Regions from separate parts of the Homo sapiens genome. Here regions 2 and 3 are each linked to region 1. The links are contacts of gene promoters, found by promoter capture Hi-C in blood cells and fetal thymus (Javierre and others, 2016). All regions are on one chromosome and are shown on one strand. The core of a region is centred on a gene start or on the middle of the fragment in contact, and the rest is flanking DNA. Distances in the headings are between cores, read along the strand shown.

Region 1 (4,929 bases), core at 1,553-4,052:
CCTTGGCCTCCCAAAGTGCTGGGATTACAGGCATGAGCCACCGCTTCCAGCCCCTCTGCACTTATTATTTGCACTGTTCTCTCTTTTTCTGGGCATCTCCCCAGTGAGCCATGTATCTTTCAGACCTCTGTTCAAATGTCACCTTTATAGATATGTCTTCCTTGACTGCCACACCATATTCCCGTTCCATTTGCCCCTTGCTGTTTCCTTTTTCCTCAGAGCACTCTATCACCACCCCTCATCGTATATATTTATTGGCTGTCTCCCTCTCCTCCAAACTAGAATGCAAACTCTATGAGGGCAGGGTCTTTGTTTTGTTCACTGCTATATCCCCAGCACTGCAAGTAATGCCTGATACAGAGTAGGTACTCGGTAAATGCTTCTTGGATGAATTATTAGCTATCATCATCATCATTATCAGTTCAGTCAGTGCAGATGGCTCCTGGGGGTGGGAATCCAGGTCTTATTCATGGCCATATACCCCCCAGGGCTGAGGACCCAGGCTTGTGGTGTGAGAGGAAGAACCTAAACCAGGAGAACCTGGTTCCAAGAGCAGCAAGGAACAGGTCTCTCCTTGGACTATGCTTCCTTGCTGCCCTGAGATTCTGTGACTCAATGAGGGATGGAGGGTGGGGAGGCGGTAGTGGTGTGGGGGGCACAGGATGGGGCAAGGAAAGGAGAGGGGAATCGGAAGCCAAAGAACCAGACCTCACCTGGGTGGGCTGCATAGCAGGTGACGCCAGTGGCCTCAAGCTGGTTGGCGAGCTCCCGGGCAAACAGTACATTAGCCAGCTTAGTGTCAGCATATGCCCGCAGCTCCTGCCGCCAGCCCACCACTGGGCGGTCCAGGCGTTTGAAGTCAAGACGTCCCCGACAGTGGGCAGCTGAGGCTACCACCACCACGCGGCTAGGGGCACATGCCTTCAGGCAAGGCAGCAGCAGATGTGTCAGCAGAAAGGGACCGATATGGTTCACCCGAAGCAGCAGGTTAAACGCCTCACGGGTCCGGCCACAGGAACTGATACCTGGGGCAGAGGCTAAATGTGAGCGGCTGCTCCAGAAGGAGCTCTGCAGCCTTGGCATCCCTATCTATGAGATGGGAGAAGGGGGCATCCTTCCCATGTGTCCACTGGCCCCAGCAGGGCCCCCGCTGGAGGGGGCAGTTGCCCCTGGCCACCCGCCACCCCACCCCCACGCAGGGCCTGCTGCCCCTCACCGGCATTGTGGATGAGGATGTCCAACCGTGGCTCAGAGCTCAGAAAGGCAGTGGCAAAGGCCCGCACCGAGGCCAGACTGGCCAAGTCCAAGGCCATGAAGATGACCTCATTGTTCCCACTCTCCTGTGGAGAGGCAAGGGCTGGGCTTGTCACCAGGCATCTCTCTCCTCTTCCCTCTCCCCAGGCACCAAATTCTGAGAGTCCATCTCCTACTGTTTACTAAAATCTGCCCCTGTGTCTTAGAGTGTACTAGATAAGTGTGTGGATTCAAATCCTGACTTTGCCTTTTACTAAAGTGTGACCTTGGGCAAGATACTTAATCTCTCTGGGTCTCAGTTCTCTCACTGCGTAAAGGGAATAATAATAACAACAGTCCCAATCTCACTGAGCTTTTGTGAGGATGAAAGGAGTTAACGTGTAAAATACACTCTAGCAGCACTGGGTAGGTACTTGCTATTATTATTATCACCTCCTTTCCCCATTACCATTTACCCTAAAATCTGTAACTTCTCACTGGTCTCCTCTCTCCCGCTCTTGCCCCCCCACTCCAGGCACCACGCAGCCACAAAGGAGTTCCTTCCAAAGGCTATTCTGACAGTCCGGAGCCTACTGAGGGCTGTTCATGGTCTCCACTGGTCTCTGCTGCCCAATCTATAAAATCCAAGCTTCTCAATAGGCTCTAGAATGTTCTCCAGCCCCCTCATTTGCCCATCTTCCTCATACTTTGTGCTCCAGCCTCATTAAATCTTTTTCTCAGTTTTTCAGATCAGTCCAGCTCTCTTTGCCTCAGAGCCTTTGCTTATGCTGTGCCCTCTGCTGTTCCCTTTCCTACTGATCATTAACCCAACTTCTACTGATGCTTAAACGTCTCAGAACTGCAATTACGGCCTTCAGGAAGCCCCTCCCCCACTCGGCTCTGGTGCGCCTTCCTCGGGTGACCCCAGCGCTCCGTGCACTCCCTCTTCGCGCTCAGCCGCCCGCGCCGCGCTCTCCTCCCTGGACCCGGATCCTCCGCAGCCCCTTTGCTGGCTTCTCTGTGTCCCGGCGGGTTCTCGGCTCACCGTCCCACGCGCCCCCGCTGCCTCTCACCTGGCGGAGGTCGAAGGCAGCCGCCTCCCCGCGCTCCTGGCTGCGGCAGGCCAGCACCACGCGCGCTCCCCGGCGCGCCAGCTCCAGCGCCGTCATCTTTCCGATGCCGCTGTTGGCGCCTGCGGACCGCGGGCGGGAGCCGAGCTGAGCTGAGCCCGGCGGGCCGCTGCTACCGCCGGCCCGGCCTCCTCTCCGCGCGCCCCGCCAGCTCGCACTCACCCGCCTCCGCACTCACCCGTGACCACGGCCGTGCGGCCCCGCAGGTTGCCCATGCCGCCGCACGGCGGGGCCTTCACCAGGTTGTAGTAGACAAGCACGTAAGCGCCCAGCAGCAACCCCGCGCCCAGCAGCAGCGCCTCCATGCCGGCCGCGCCTCCCGGCTCCCGCCCAGGCCCCGCACCGCCCTGGATCGCCGCCAGGCGGCTGCCGATCCGCCCTGCACAGGCCTGGAACGGCGCCCGGGCGCGTCAGCCTCCGAAGGCGGAGGCGGGCAGGAGGCTGGGCAGGGGCGTGTGCGCGTGCGGGTGCGCGCCGGCCCTGCGAGCGCCCCCTAGGCGTGCGTCGGCGTCCTGGGGGCGTGTGCCTCTGTGGACACCTTTGAGGTGAGTGTGTGCGCTTGGGCCCTGGGAGCGCCCCCTAGGTGTGTGCCTGTGTGAACTCCTGGGTGTGTGTGTCCACGTACACCCTGTGAGTGCACGCTAGGTATGTGCATGCATCTGCAACGCTTGTATGTGAATGATCTCTAGGTGTGTATGTGCCCATGTCCCTGAGGATCACCCTTTGGGTTGTGTGCGTGCCTCTGGATCCTGTGTGTGAGCTCCTGTAAGCACCTTGTAGGTGTTTGTGTGCATTCTGGCAGAGTCCCTCCAGGTATGTGCCTGCATCTGTAGTCTCTGCCAGTGCATGTGCTTGCATATCTCCATATGTTTACTCGAGGTGTATGTAGCACAGTCCCTCCCTTCTGAAGTTAGGTGTGTACATGAATACACGTGTGTCTTTGAGTCTAGTCCTAGATGCTTTTCCCTCTAAGAACAAATCCTTCTCCTTCCTTCCCTTCTGCACAAATCCTTCTCCTTTCCTTCCTTTCCTTTCCTTCCTTCCTTCCTTCCTTCCTTCCTTCCCTTCCTTCCTTCCTCCCTTCCTTCCTTCCTTCCTTCCCTCCCTCCCTTCCTTCCTTCTTTCCTTTCTTTCTTTCTTTTGAGACGGAGTTTCACTCTCGTTGCCCAGGCTGGAGTGCAGTGGCGTGATCCCGGCTCACTGCAACCTCCGCTTCCCGGGTTCAAGCAATTCTCCTGCCTCAGAATCCAGAGTAGCTGGGATCACAGGTGTGTGACACCACACCCGGCTAATTTTTGTATTTTAGTAGAGAAGGGTTTTCACTATGTTGGCCAGGTTGGTCTCAAACTTCTGACCTTAAGTGACCCACCTGCCTCAGCCTCTCAAAGTGCTGGGATTACAGGTGTGAGCCTCTGCACTGGGCCAAATCCTTCGTTTTCTTATCTTCACATCCAGCCCCCAGCTTCTAGGATTCTTCCGTGTTCTCCCCACACAGGCTAGAGAGGACACTGTTAAAGGTGGCACAGGCAGTTAAGGGGTGTCAGAATTCACTCCTTCATTCCCCCTCTGTATCTCCCTACCTCAACCCCACTAGTGCCTTCCATGGCTGAAGGGAAGCAGGAAGAGATAGAGAGTAAAATCTGTTATTGCCTTTCAGGAGGAAATTTGCCTTTGGAATGGTTCTCATAGGTGATAAGAGACAGGCAGAGAAGCTCCATCACTCAATTACAAGTGACCATGATGGCAGGAAGGGTGGGGCTGGCTAGGAACAAATGGGTAAGACCATTCCAGGGCAGAAGGCCGTTGCCTGATACATTCAGTACAATTTAGAACCTGGTATTTGGCACTTATGGTGTGCCCAGCAGTGTAGTTAGACTTGGAAATTCCGAGTGGAAGATATACAAGTTTCTGTCCTTAGGGAGTTCAAAAAGCCCATTAGGGCACCGGGAGCAGAGTGATGACGCCTGCATGGGCAGATGAAAGTCAGGGACAGACCTCAGATTCCAGGGCCAGTTTCCTATTTAGCTGCACTGCGGATTCGGGTTTCCATTGTAGATGCTGTGGGATGAGGCTGGGGGTAGAATATTCATTTTCTATCCCTAAGGCAAAATCCTGACACACAAGCAGATGCACCTACACAAACAGTGCTGGAATATACACAGAGGTGCTCTCCATCTGAGGAGGCTGACCTCAGGAAAACTTCCTGGAGAGTTTTTCACTAAGATCTGGGAGGAAAGCATGGAATTTGGTTTAATGAAGGTCCCCGGGACTTGAGAATTAAGGTAATGCAGCAGACTCGTTTTTTGATGAGGAATAGCAGTTGTAGAGAAGTGTGACTGCAGATCACATGACTAGAAGTGACAGGTCAAGACTAGATTCCACTATCAGTCAGGGTTCTCTGGAGAAACAGCTCCCCCCGGGCCAGCAGACGCACCCATGTCATTCCATTGTCATCCACCCACCCTGGCTCACTTTTCTCCAACACCTCCCCTACCAAACTTCCCTATGGGAATGAGACCTGTTCAAAAGGCCCCCCACCTGCTAGACCCAGATCTAGGGGAGGGTC
Region 2 (4,929 bases), core at 963-3,462, 200 kb before region 1:
GGAAACAGAAGCAGCGGCTGACACCTCGGCCCTCCCCCAGCCCCATGATCGAAAGCACCCCCATGTCCATTGCTGGCGATGCCACCCCACTCCTGGACGAGATGGATCGGTAGGGGGCCTGCTCCTCGGACTCTGGTTACCTCTGAGGCTGGGAAAGGCCTGGCTGCCCACTGCCTCCCTCCCTGCCCCTCCTTTTATGTCCATAAAGTGGCGTGAAGTGAGACGTTCTCTTTGGTGGTCAACCCGGATGGGTGACAGGCTGGATGGCCTTGTGAACTTGAGCTCAGTGTATGCTAGGCAACAATTCTCCCGCTCCAGACCCTCACCGACCACCTGTCCTGGGACCAGGCTGGGAGGGGAGTGTGGCAGGGAGGAGGAAGAGGAAGGTGAGAATGAGTAGAACAGTTTTGTATTCTACTCCCTACAAGCCATTTTGAACTTCTGCCCTCACCGGACTCTGGGCTGTGACTGGGGCACCAAACTCAGCACATGAGTCTCCCCTAGCTCTCGTGGGGAGAGGGATGCTATTTATTCAGTTTGGGGCAGGAGGGAGAGGAGGGAAAGTATTTCTGACCCTGATGCCAACAGCCGGGTGGCTGTCCAAGCAGGATTGCAGGGGACACAGGGAAGCACTGCCCAGCCCCTGCCTGGCTGCCCTTTCCCCCCTGCTGCTGCCACCGCTTCCTGCCTGTCATTTGAATAAACAGTGTTTCTATTGAGCTCTTGCCAAAGCCTCTCTCTCCAACTCTCCAGCTCTTTGAGGGGTGGCTTTCAAAGCAGTGTTTGGAGCTCCAAGGACTCCCCTGACTCCCTCTTCTGATCCATCAGAGGCAAAGATTCATAGACTAGAGGCAGCTTCTACATCAGACTGCCTGGGGCACATCCCTGCTCTACTTCCCAGCCGGGTGACCCTGTGCCAGTTCCTGCTGCCTTTCAGCTGGCTTTCTTACCTGTAACATGGAGATAGTGATACCTGCCTCATCAGCTGCTGTGAGGACCAAGGCAGCGTGTGCAAGCTCCTTGGCCCAACGCCTGGTACGTCGCAAATGTTACCCGGTATTATTACACCCACTCACTCACCCACAGCACAGCTGCCCCATCCGCCCATGCCTGCTGGTCTTCTCTGGCACCCTGGAGAAAGGCCACAAGTAAATCTGGATTTCTCAACTTGAGCCTCTGCCGTTCATCTCTTCCCTTTTCCCAGCTGGGCCTTGGTCTCTTGCAAGCTCTCAGCAGTAAGGTGTTCCTGCCCCAGGATGGGGCCCTGCTCACCTGCTCCCCTCCAACACACTGGCCCTGGCCCTTTGTCCCTGCCCCACTGCATTTTTTGTTCTGAACTCCTGCCATCCCTGTTTCTGCACAAGGGCTTCGTCTCACAGCTCTGTGAGTCAATGCTGGGAGAGTGGGGCCTCTGGCTCCCTTTCCTTTGCTTGGGGCTCAGCAGAGAAGTCAGAAAAGGCCACTGCTGCCCAGACGTGGCACACTCCCTCCCCTTGTTTTTCTTCATCAAGATCTGGGGGAAGGGGCCAGCTCTGCCAGGAACTCAAGTCAGCTCCCTTCAGCACAAAAGGGCTACAAGGGAGGAGCTAGACCACCAGCTGGGAAGGTCAGTCTCTGGTAGTACCACGAGCACCTTCTGCAGAGCCACTTAGAGGAGGGAAAGGCCAGGCACAGTGGCACAGAGTGGGTTAAAAAGTTCCGTTTATTGGGGGTATCGCTGCAGACAGTACTGCCTGTCCCAGAAGTGGATTTCACACAGACCAGTCTCTCGCAGCAGAGAGGGGAAGCCCTCCTTCCCACCCCAGATACACTCTTCCACCTTGTCCTAGCAGGTAGGAAGAAATAGGGCTGTGCCCCTTCCTTTCCCTCCCACCTGCCTTCCCATGGGCTTCCTTTGTGAAAGCTGGATTGCCTTTGAGAAACCCCTGCAGCCCTGAGCCCACCCCTTGCCCCGCAAGAAACAGCCAGGTTGGAGGGAGAGAACAGCAGCAGAGGGCCAGCCACAGGCTCGATGGCATTTATTCTGCACCCTGACCACCCTGGCCTCAACTGAGGTTGGGGTTTGATCCTGGGGGAGATTTTCTCTTGTTTACCTTCCTGGCTTGTGAGGGCTTTGCCCCTGTCTTTTTGGCCTGGACTGTGTTCTCTCTCTTCCTGGGCGATGATGATTCCACAATATCCTCGCTGGACAGTTCTCCCTGCCCCCGGCCATTGTAACTGTCCTCGCTCTCCAGCTCTTCCCGGCTTTCTGGGCTGGACTCGGACATCCTGGCCAGCTGTCTTGCGCTTAATGATCGGCTCACGTCTGGCGGGGAAGGCTCCAATTTAACCGGGCTTTTCTTCTTAGTCAACTGGCCTTTCTTGGCTTTTTTCTTCAGCTTTGCCTTCTCATCCATCTCCTCCTTGTCTTTCTCTTTTTCCTTTTTCTTCTTTACCTTCTTGATCACCTTGCTGCCCTGACCCTTCCCTGTGGGGCTCTCAGAGCGCCAGATGGTGATGGGCGCTGTGGAGTCAGGGGTACCAGTGGCCATGCTGGTGCCTAGGTCAGGGGAGGCGGTGGCGGGCCCCACCTGTGTCGGGATGGGGGGCTTGCTTTCCTCCTCCTCCTCTTCCTCTTCTTCATTTAGATCATCTGCCCCACACTCATGGTAGAGTGGATGGTGGATCACTGCCACAGAGACAGGTCTGTAGCTTTTGCACCTGGGAGAAGGGACAACGGGGGAAGTTTGACAGAGAGTGGGGGGCAGTGCCCTGTAGAGGCCCCTTCCCCATCAGCCCACCGGGGCTCACTCACCAGCCATACCGGAATCGCTCCACATGCTCCTCCTCCGGTGTGAGCTCAAAGCAAGGGGACTCGATGACATGGGAGCAGGTTGGGCCCGCGCCCCGGGAGCTGCTGCTATCCTCTGAAGAGTCCTTCAGCCTGCCACACATGGGACTCTCAGCCTGGCTCCCATCACTCCCCCAGGGACCCAGAGCCAGAAGCCTGAGGGACAGTGGGCTTCCGCTGGGCCTGCCTCAGGCCAACAGACCTCCTCCCCATTTCTCTTAGAGCAGAGCAAGGTGTGCAGAGCTGGGACTGGGCTGGCAGCACCAATTCAAAGCTGAAGAGGCAAACCAAAGGTTGAAGGGGAGACCACAATGAAAGTTCGGACCTGGCTCTGCCATGGGTCCCCCAAGGGGGCGGGCCCTCACCTAGAATTACAGTTGCAGTGGTTGACAGAGTGTAGGTGCAGGCTGTGGCGGACACAGTCAGAGGCGAAAGGGTAGATGATGTGCCCAGTGCACTGCTTGTGTCTCCAGCAGCACTTGTCAGGCTCCTTGCAGTCACCTGAGGGGGCAGGAGTCTGGGTCATCAGTAGCAGCCGCAGACCTCTGGGTCTTCCCACAGCTCAAGCTAAAACCTCACCAAATTCACCTGCCACCACCAGCTGTCCACCCCAAGAAGTGTTTCTGCTTCAGTAGTAGTAACTTGGCCGCAGAGTAACCCCATGTCCCAGCAAAGTGTCTGGTTCCATGTCTGATACACAGGAGACCCTTATCAAGCCCCCTGCAGTCCTGTGATTCCCTGTTACTTCTGTCCTCTCCCTCCAGTGGGAGGCCTCCACCAGCTCCTGCCTGCCCCTCAACCAGGTGCTGACAATGAGTGGCAGCCCTGCTCCACAAGGCGCCTGGTAGGAGAAGGCCCTCCTGCTATGGCACCCCACAGCCCCAGGAGCAGCAGAGCCGCAGCATCCTCAGTTCCTACACCTGCCCTGGCCCACGCTGATCTCTCACAGCCTGGCCAGGAGCTAAGGCCTGCATCATGCTCCTTAGCTTCTGACTCGTCCTTCCCTCCCCACTTCCCCCTCCTCCCTTCTCCTTCAAGCCCCTTTTTTTCTCCTGCCTGACACCTTTCTCACTCCCCTCCCTTCCCATGCCCCCTTCTTGATCCTTTCCCTGCTCTTCACTCAGCACCTTCCCACACTCTCCCCAGTCCCTAGAGCCCCAGGCTTTCGAATGACCCACCCCCAGCCTAAGCACCCTTTTAGGCAGCACAGAGACCACATCCCCTTTCCCAGGGCACAGGAAGAAGCTGCTGGGGTGAGAATTTGGGGTTAGGGAAAAGCCCTGGAGAAAGGCCCCCACCTCTGCTGCTCAGCTCAATGCCAGTCCTGAAGACAGGAGTTTCCCCGGTCTACCACCACTGCCTCACCTCTGACACTGCCTAAGGCCCGGCTGTCCCCTCAGGCCTCTATCTCAAAGGTAAGCCCATGAGGCGACTCTGCGCCTCTCACAGCCCAGAATCTCACTCACACGACAAAGGACAAGGGACCTTACCTCGGATTCCCCAGCACTCCTAGGGGAGGGAGGGAGCAGGCACTGGCTTGGGGTGCTGTGGCTGGGTTACCCTCAAACAGGCCGAGGATTGTGCCTTTGCCAGCCCCCACGAGGAGTGGAACTAGGGTGAGACCTCATACCGGCCACCAGCCAGGAATGAGCCCAGGCTGTGGGTGTGAGTCCAAGTGGCCTCACAGTGCAGCAGCTTGGCCTGAGGCTTACCCACATTTCTTCCTCCTTCCCTTCCCCACACAAGGCTGTGAAGTCCTGGGTCCTCACTACACTGCTGACCCATGGGTGATCTGTGTCTCTCTCCTCCCCTCTTGTACCCTTTATCCCCCGGGAAGATGAGGAAGGCATGGGTATGTGGCAGGACCCTGAAACTTCACCACCACCTTGGCCTTCCTCAGCACAGCTGAGCTGGGCCAAAGGGCAGCATAGTGGCAAAGTGCCCTGAACTTGTAGTCAGGCCTAAGCCCAAGTCGTGGGTCTGTCACTTACTAGCCGGGTGGCTTAGGGCAAATTTCTTTACTTCTCTGAGCCTTTAATTTCCTCATCCACAAAATGGGATGGTGGTCATACCAATTTTGCAGGGTTGTTGGGCGGACT
Region 3 (4,929 bases), core at 1,412-3,911, 140 kb before region 1:
ACTTGTAGTCCCAGCTACTTGGGAGGCTGAGGCAGGAGAATTGCTTGAACCCGGCAGGTGGAGGTTGCAGTGAGCAAAGATTGCACCACTGCACTCCAGCCTGGGTGACAGAGCGAGACTCCATCTCAAAAAAAAAAAAAAAAAAAAAAGTTTTCTCAGCTGGGCATGGTGGCTCACGCCTGTAATCCCAGCACTTTGGGAGGCCGAGGTGGGTGGATCACGAGGTCAGGAGTTCAAGACCAGCCTGGCCAAGATGGAGAAACCCCGTCTCTACTAAAAAAATACAAAAAATTAGCCGGGCATGGTGGCAGGTGCCTGTAATCCCAGCTACTCGGGAGGCTGAGGCAAAGAATTGCTTAAACCCGGGAGGCAGGGTTGCAGTGAGCCAAGATCGCACCACTGCACTCCAACCTGGGTGACAGAGTAAGACTCCGTCTCAAAAAAAAAAAAAAAAGTTTTCTCAACACTTATCACAGCCCCCACACAGGCACCCTGACTACTTATTTTCTTCTGTAATGTATTTCTGTAACTACACAGCCAACACAGATACCACAGCTTTGTAAGCGACTTACTTAAATAGCTTATACCAATAGTGTCATTAATAGAGACATAGACAATGTAGGGAATAGGAAATCTGTAGTTTGTAAAGGGTTAGAGAAACCTGTATTCAAGTACTAGCTTCATCATTTGCCCATACTGAGAGCCTGTCATTCCTCAATTATCAACAGGGATGAATTCTGCTCTCCTACTTCACAGAATTACTAAGATCGAGAGTCAATGAACATTTTCACTAAATGAGCATTTTCATTGAAAATGAAACAATGATGGTCAATAGTTACCATTCAAGGATAGCAGATGTGGCTGAGTCTGACCACAGACAACACAAAGAAAACTGACTAAGGAAGCCCCAACTGCAGGACAACCTGGCCTTCAGCCTGAGAGTTAAATGTAACAGAAAGCACTGCTGTCTATTCCAGGATGGACTGGAGGCAATTTTCTGCCTGAAATTCAGTCCTCCCAATGGAGACCTCTCTGTTCATCCTTCTGTTTTGAAGGTCAGAGGGCACAGGTGGCATAGGCAACAGGAACCTCTATCTGTAGGCAGAGAGGCACAGGCAATGTGTTCAAACACAGATTTCAGAGTCTGAGCTGAGTATGGGCCAGTCACAGGACTGTCATGTGGCACTGGCAAGTGACAAACCCTCTCTCTATACCTTATCCTTCTGACAAAGGCAAGAGAGTCTTCCATATGGAATTTTTGAGGAATGGGTGACAACATATGTGAAAATATTCAATATAGTGCCTGGCACATGGTAGCAACTTGACAAATGTTAGCTATTATTTCTATGACTTTATCCAGTCATTGGGTCAATCTGCCATTTCCAGACCCCTCCACTAGGGGGCAGATATGCACATAAAGAAGCAGTAAAAGAAGGTAATTTTGGCATTTGTCCCCAGAGCCCCAGTGTTCTGCCATGGAAGGAAATCAAAGTTGTTATCTGAAGATGGTTTAAGGACCAAGGACCTTTTATCAGCTATTCAAACAGTAAATATTTACAGAGCCACTACTATATTGTGATCCTGAGAAGGGGAAATACAGAGCAGAGGTTTAGGATTAAGAAAGAAAAAATTTCCAGTGGCGCATGCCTGTAATCTGAGCTACTCGAGAGACTAAGGCAGGAGCACTGCTTAAACCCGGGAGATGGAGGTTGCAGTGAACCGAGATTGCGCCACTGCACTCCAGTCTGGGTGACAGAGGGAGACTCCATCTCAAAAAAAAAAAAAAAAAAAAAAAGGGCCGGGCATGGTGGCTCATGCCTGTAATCCCACTACTCAGGAGACTGAGGCGGGAGAATCACTTGAACTTGGGAGGCGGAGGTTGCAGTGAGCCGAGATCGTGCCACTGCACTCCAGCCTGGGTGACAAGAGCAAAAGTCCTCCTCAAAATAATAAAATAAAATAAAGTGGGCTGGGTGTGGTGGCTCACACCTGTAATCCCAGCACTTTGAGAGGCCGAGGCAGGCGGATCACCTGAAGTCGGGAGTTCGAGACCAGCCTGACCAACATGAAGAAACCCTGTCTCTACTGAAAATACAAAATTAGCTGGGCGTGGTGGTGCATGCCTGTAATCTCAGCTACTCAAGAGGCTGAGGTAGAGAATCGCTTGAACCCAGAAGGCGGAGGTTGCGTTGAGCCGAGATCACGCCATTGCACTCCAGCCTAGCAACAAGAGCAAAACTCTATCTAAAAAAAATAATTAAAAAAAAAATAAAAATAATAAAAGTGAACACCAAGATAAAGCTGCCAATTTGCCCGTCCTCCAAATGGCTTTTCCCTTGATATCACATCTTTGGGTAAAGCTGTCAGAGTGTGTTAAGGAACCCAGAACAAAGGAAGCTTCTCTTTGTCATCTTACTGCATGCCTCTAAGTACGTTCCCTCTCCAGTTGTGTCCCCAGAAGCCCAGAAATAGGCACGATGCAGTTAGGATGCTGATTTGGATGACCAGAGAGTATAACATAACACCTTCATCACCCAATCATCACTTATTAAGATAAAGGATGGGTTGAGAAAGCTATAGCAGAGCTTGCCTTATTGTGTCAGGCAACTGTAGAAGGAGGACTACCACCTTCAGCTGTTATTACATAGAGCTGGATTCACTGGCCAAATTCCAGAACTAGCCAGGCTCTGAGTCTTACGCTCTCTCAAAGAAATGAAGTCTAAAGGCTGGACCATTTTTAACTTCTGATGATGTTCTCACATGGCAGGGGCTGGCAAACGACAGCCTGCGTGCCTGGTCCAGTTGCTGTTTTTTTGTAAAAAAGTTTCACTGGAACACAGACACCCTCATTTGTTTATTGTCTGTGGCTGCCGTTGCCCTACAATGCCAGAGTTGAGTAGATGCAACAGAGACCACATGGCCCACAAAGCTTAAATTATTGGCTATCTGGGCTTTACAGAAAGTTTGTTAACCCCTGTCATAAGGGGTTCAGTTAAGGTGCTGAAGCACCTTTCCTATCAAAGGGAAGCCTAGCCACCTCAATGATTTCCCCTTTGTGCTCTGAATGGAAGGTCTATTCCAAATTTAGGGCTGTTTTTACACCTGAAGATACTATACATGGTAATGTGCCAAGAATAGAATATTTTCCTTGCAGATCATGTATTACAGGGAGAGAAGGTAGGAAGGAGTCCGGGAAAATATGAAGTATAAAACCCCAATTCCAGAAAGTTAAGACAAGAATCTAACAGTTTTCAAAGGCTCAATCTTCTGGGAAGTGTATTAGCAGGAAAATGCCCAGAGAGACTGAGAAAGCTAGCTCTCCATCTCTTCTGAGGGCAAAAGCTCCCTGACTTCCTGTGAACTAAAGTCACACTGACTCAGAAGGCAGGTAGCAAAGCCAAAGGGAACTGTCTGTTTCCATGGTAGACTACTAAGAGAGTTCAAAACAAGAGAACAGCATAGTTTATTTCAGAGATATAGTAAGTAATCTGGACTGTGAGTTTTCATTCAATTCCCTATGAAGGTTCAAACTGAAACACCTTTTTTAAGGGTGATATATATATATATATTTCCCCTGAAGCTCTTTATAGTTTTGTTGTTCAACAGAAAGCTATCAGCAACAATTAAAATTGAGATACAATGGGGAATTACAGAATTTAAGCAGACCCCTAATGGCTGGACACAGTGGCTCACACCTGTAATCCCAGCACTTTGGGAGGCCAAGTTAGGGGCATCACCTGAGATCAGGAGTTTGAGACCAGCCTGGCCAACATGGTGAAACCCTATCTCTACTAAAAATAGAAAATTAGCCAGGCATGGTGGTGGGCACCTGTAATCCCAGCTACTCGGGAGGCTGAAGCAAGAGAATTGCTTAACCCGGGAGGGAGAGGTTGCAGTGAGCCAATCAAGATCGCGTCATTGCACTCCAGCCTGGGTGACAAGAGCAAGACTTCGTCTTAAAAAAAAAAAAAAAAGAAAGGTGTCAAAATTCAAGGTCAGTGTACCCCAGATGTGCTTCAAGGACGGCCCAAATGTAGAGACAAAAACAAAGAATCACACATGCTCCATAGGATCCAGATTACTTACATTTCTGAAGTCCAGTGTTCATCTGCGTGTGAGAAAGAAGCTGAAAGGACAGGTCACCTGGCCCTGGTAGACAGGCTAGCATGGCAGATTGGCATCAACACAACATGGGGCAGTGGCTCACACTGTAATGAACAAAAACAAGGTCATGAAACACAAGGCAACTCATTCGAAGAAGAGAGTAGGAACACTGGATATGACTGGCGTGAGGCCCAAGTTTAGACACATAAAGCAATTTAATTAGCAGTGTGTTGGTTGAAAGTATACTTACATCTTTATCTGTGACGACAATTTGCTGTCAAATATCACTATGGTTAAAATGATTTTTCAGTTACCACAGATGTATGGATGGGAGAAATAAAACTGGAAAGCACCTATTCATACAACTGGAAAGTACAGGTGCATTTATAATGTCTCAGTATTCCTGAGGAGAGTGGGCCCTCATAGGGCCTGGCTCAGCCAGCCCATTTATAGGCCTGGTTGGAGACCAGCCAGACATTTTCAGAAGCAGCACATTATATGATTGCAAAGGTACCCAATGTCTGACTTGTGAGCCAGTAATATGAACCCACTTTTATTTTATTTTTTTTGAGACGGAGTTTCACTCTTGTTGCCCAGGCTGGAGTGCCATGGTGCGATCTTGGCTCACTGCAACCTCTGCCTCCCAGGTTCAAGCGATTCTCCTGCTTCAGCCTCCCGAGTAGCTGGGATTAAAGGCACCCGCCACCACGCCTGGCTAATTTCTTTGTATTTTTAGTAGAGACGGGGTTTCACCATGTTGGCCAGGCTGGTCTCGAACTCCTGACCTCAGTTGATCCGCCCACCTCGGCCTCCCAAAGTGCCGGG

Evidence for each region. Contacts are between HindIII fragments. The CHiCAGO score rates a contact against its expected background, and 5 or more counts as called.
Region 2: a fragment that was not itself captured here is called in contact with the fragment with the promoter of DHRS13 in region 1 in 7 of 17 cell types (activated CD4 T cells, total B cells, naive B cells and 4 more); the score reaches 6.9 in activated CD4 T cells.
Region 3: a contact is called between a fragment that was not itself captured here and the fragment with the promoter of DHRS13 in region 1, in 17 of 17 cell types (activated CD4 T cells, naive CD4 T cells, naive B cells and 14 more). The highest score is 34.2, in activated CD4 T cells.

The regions. Positions count from the first base shown.
Region 1 is chr17:28,900,277-28,905,205 of GRCh38, forward strand. It overlaps DHRS13 (dehydrogenase/reductase 13), which reads right to left and starts at 2,803. Exons shown (of 5, transcript NM_144683.4): 1 at 2,542-2,803; 2 at 2,307-2,425; 3 at 1,217-1,340; 4 at 714-1,025. The coding sequence starts at 2,668. RefSeq lists silencers at 1,702-1,894, 2,396-3,025. The HindIII fragment of the contact is 5,010 bases long and covers 1,881-4,929 here.
Region 2 is chr17:28,701,513-28,706,441 of GRCh38, forward strand. SUPT6H (SPT6 homolog, histone chaperone and transcription elongation factor) reads left to right here. Exons shown (of 37, transcript NM_003170.5): 37 at 1-1,167. The coding sequence ends at 113. PROCA1 (protein interacting with cyclin A1) reads right to left here. Exons shown (of 5, transcript NM_001366301.1): 3 at 3,196-3,331; 4 at 2,795-2,923; 5 at 1,685-2,700. The coding sequence ends at 2,046. Among named protein-coding and RNA genes, the nearest start is that of PROCA1, 7.9 kb to the right of the region's middle. The HindIII fragment of the contact is 5,760 bases long and covers 1-4,929 here.
Region 3 is chr17:28,762,500-28,767,428 of GRCh38, forward strand. It overlaps FAM222B (family with sequence similarity 222 member B), which reads right to left. Exons shown (of 3, transcript NM_001077498.3): 2 at 4,087-4,208. The coding sequence starts at 4,168. Among named protein-coding and RNA genes, the nearest start is that of TRAF4, 21 kb to the left of the region's middle. The HindIII fragment of the contact is 532 bases long and covers 2,396-2,927 here.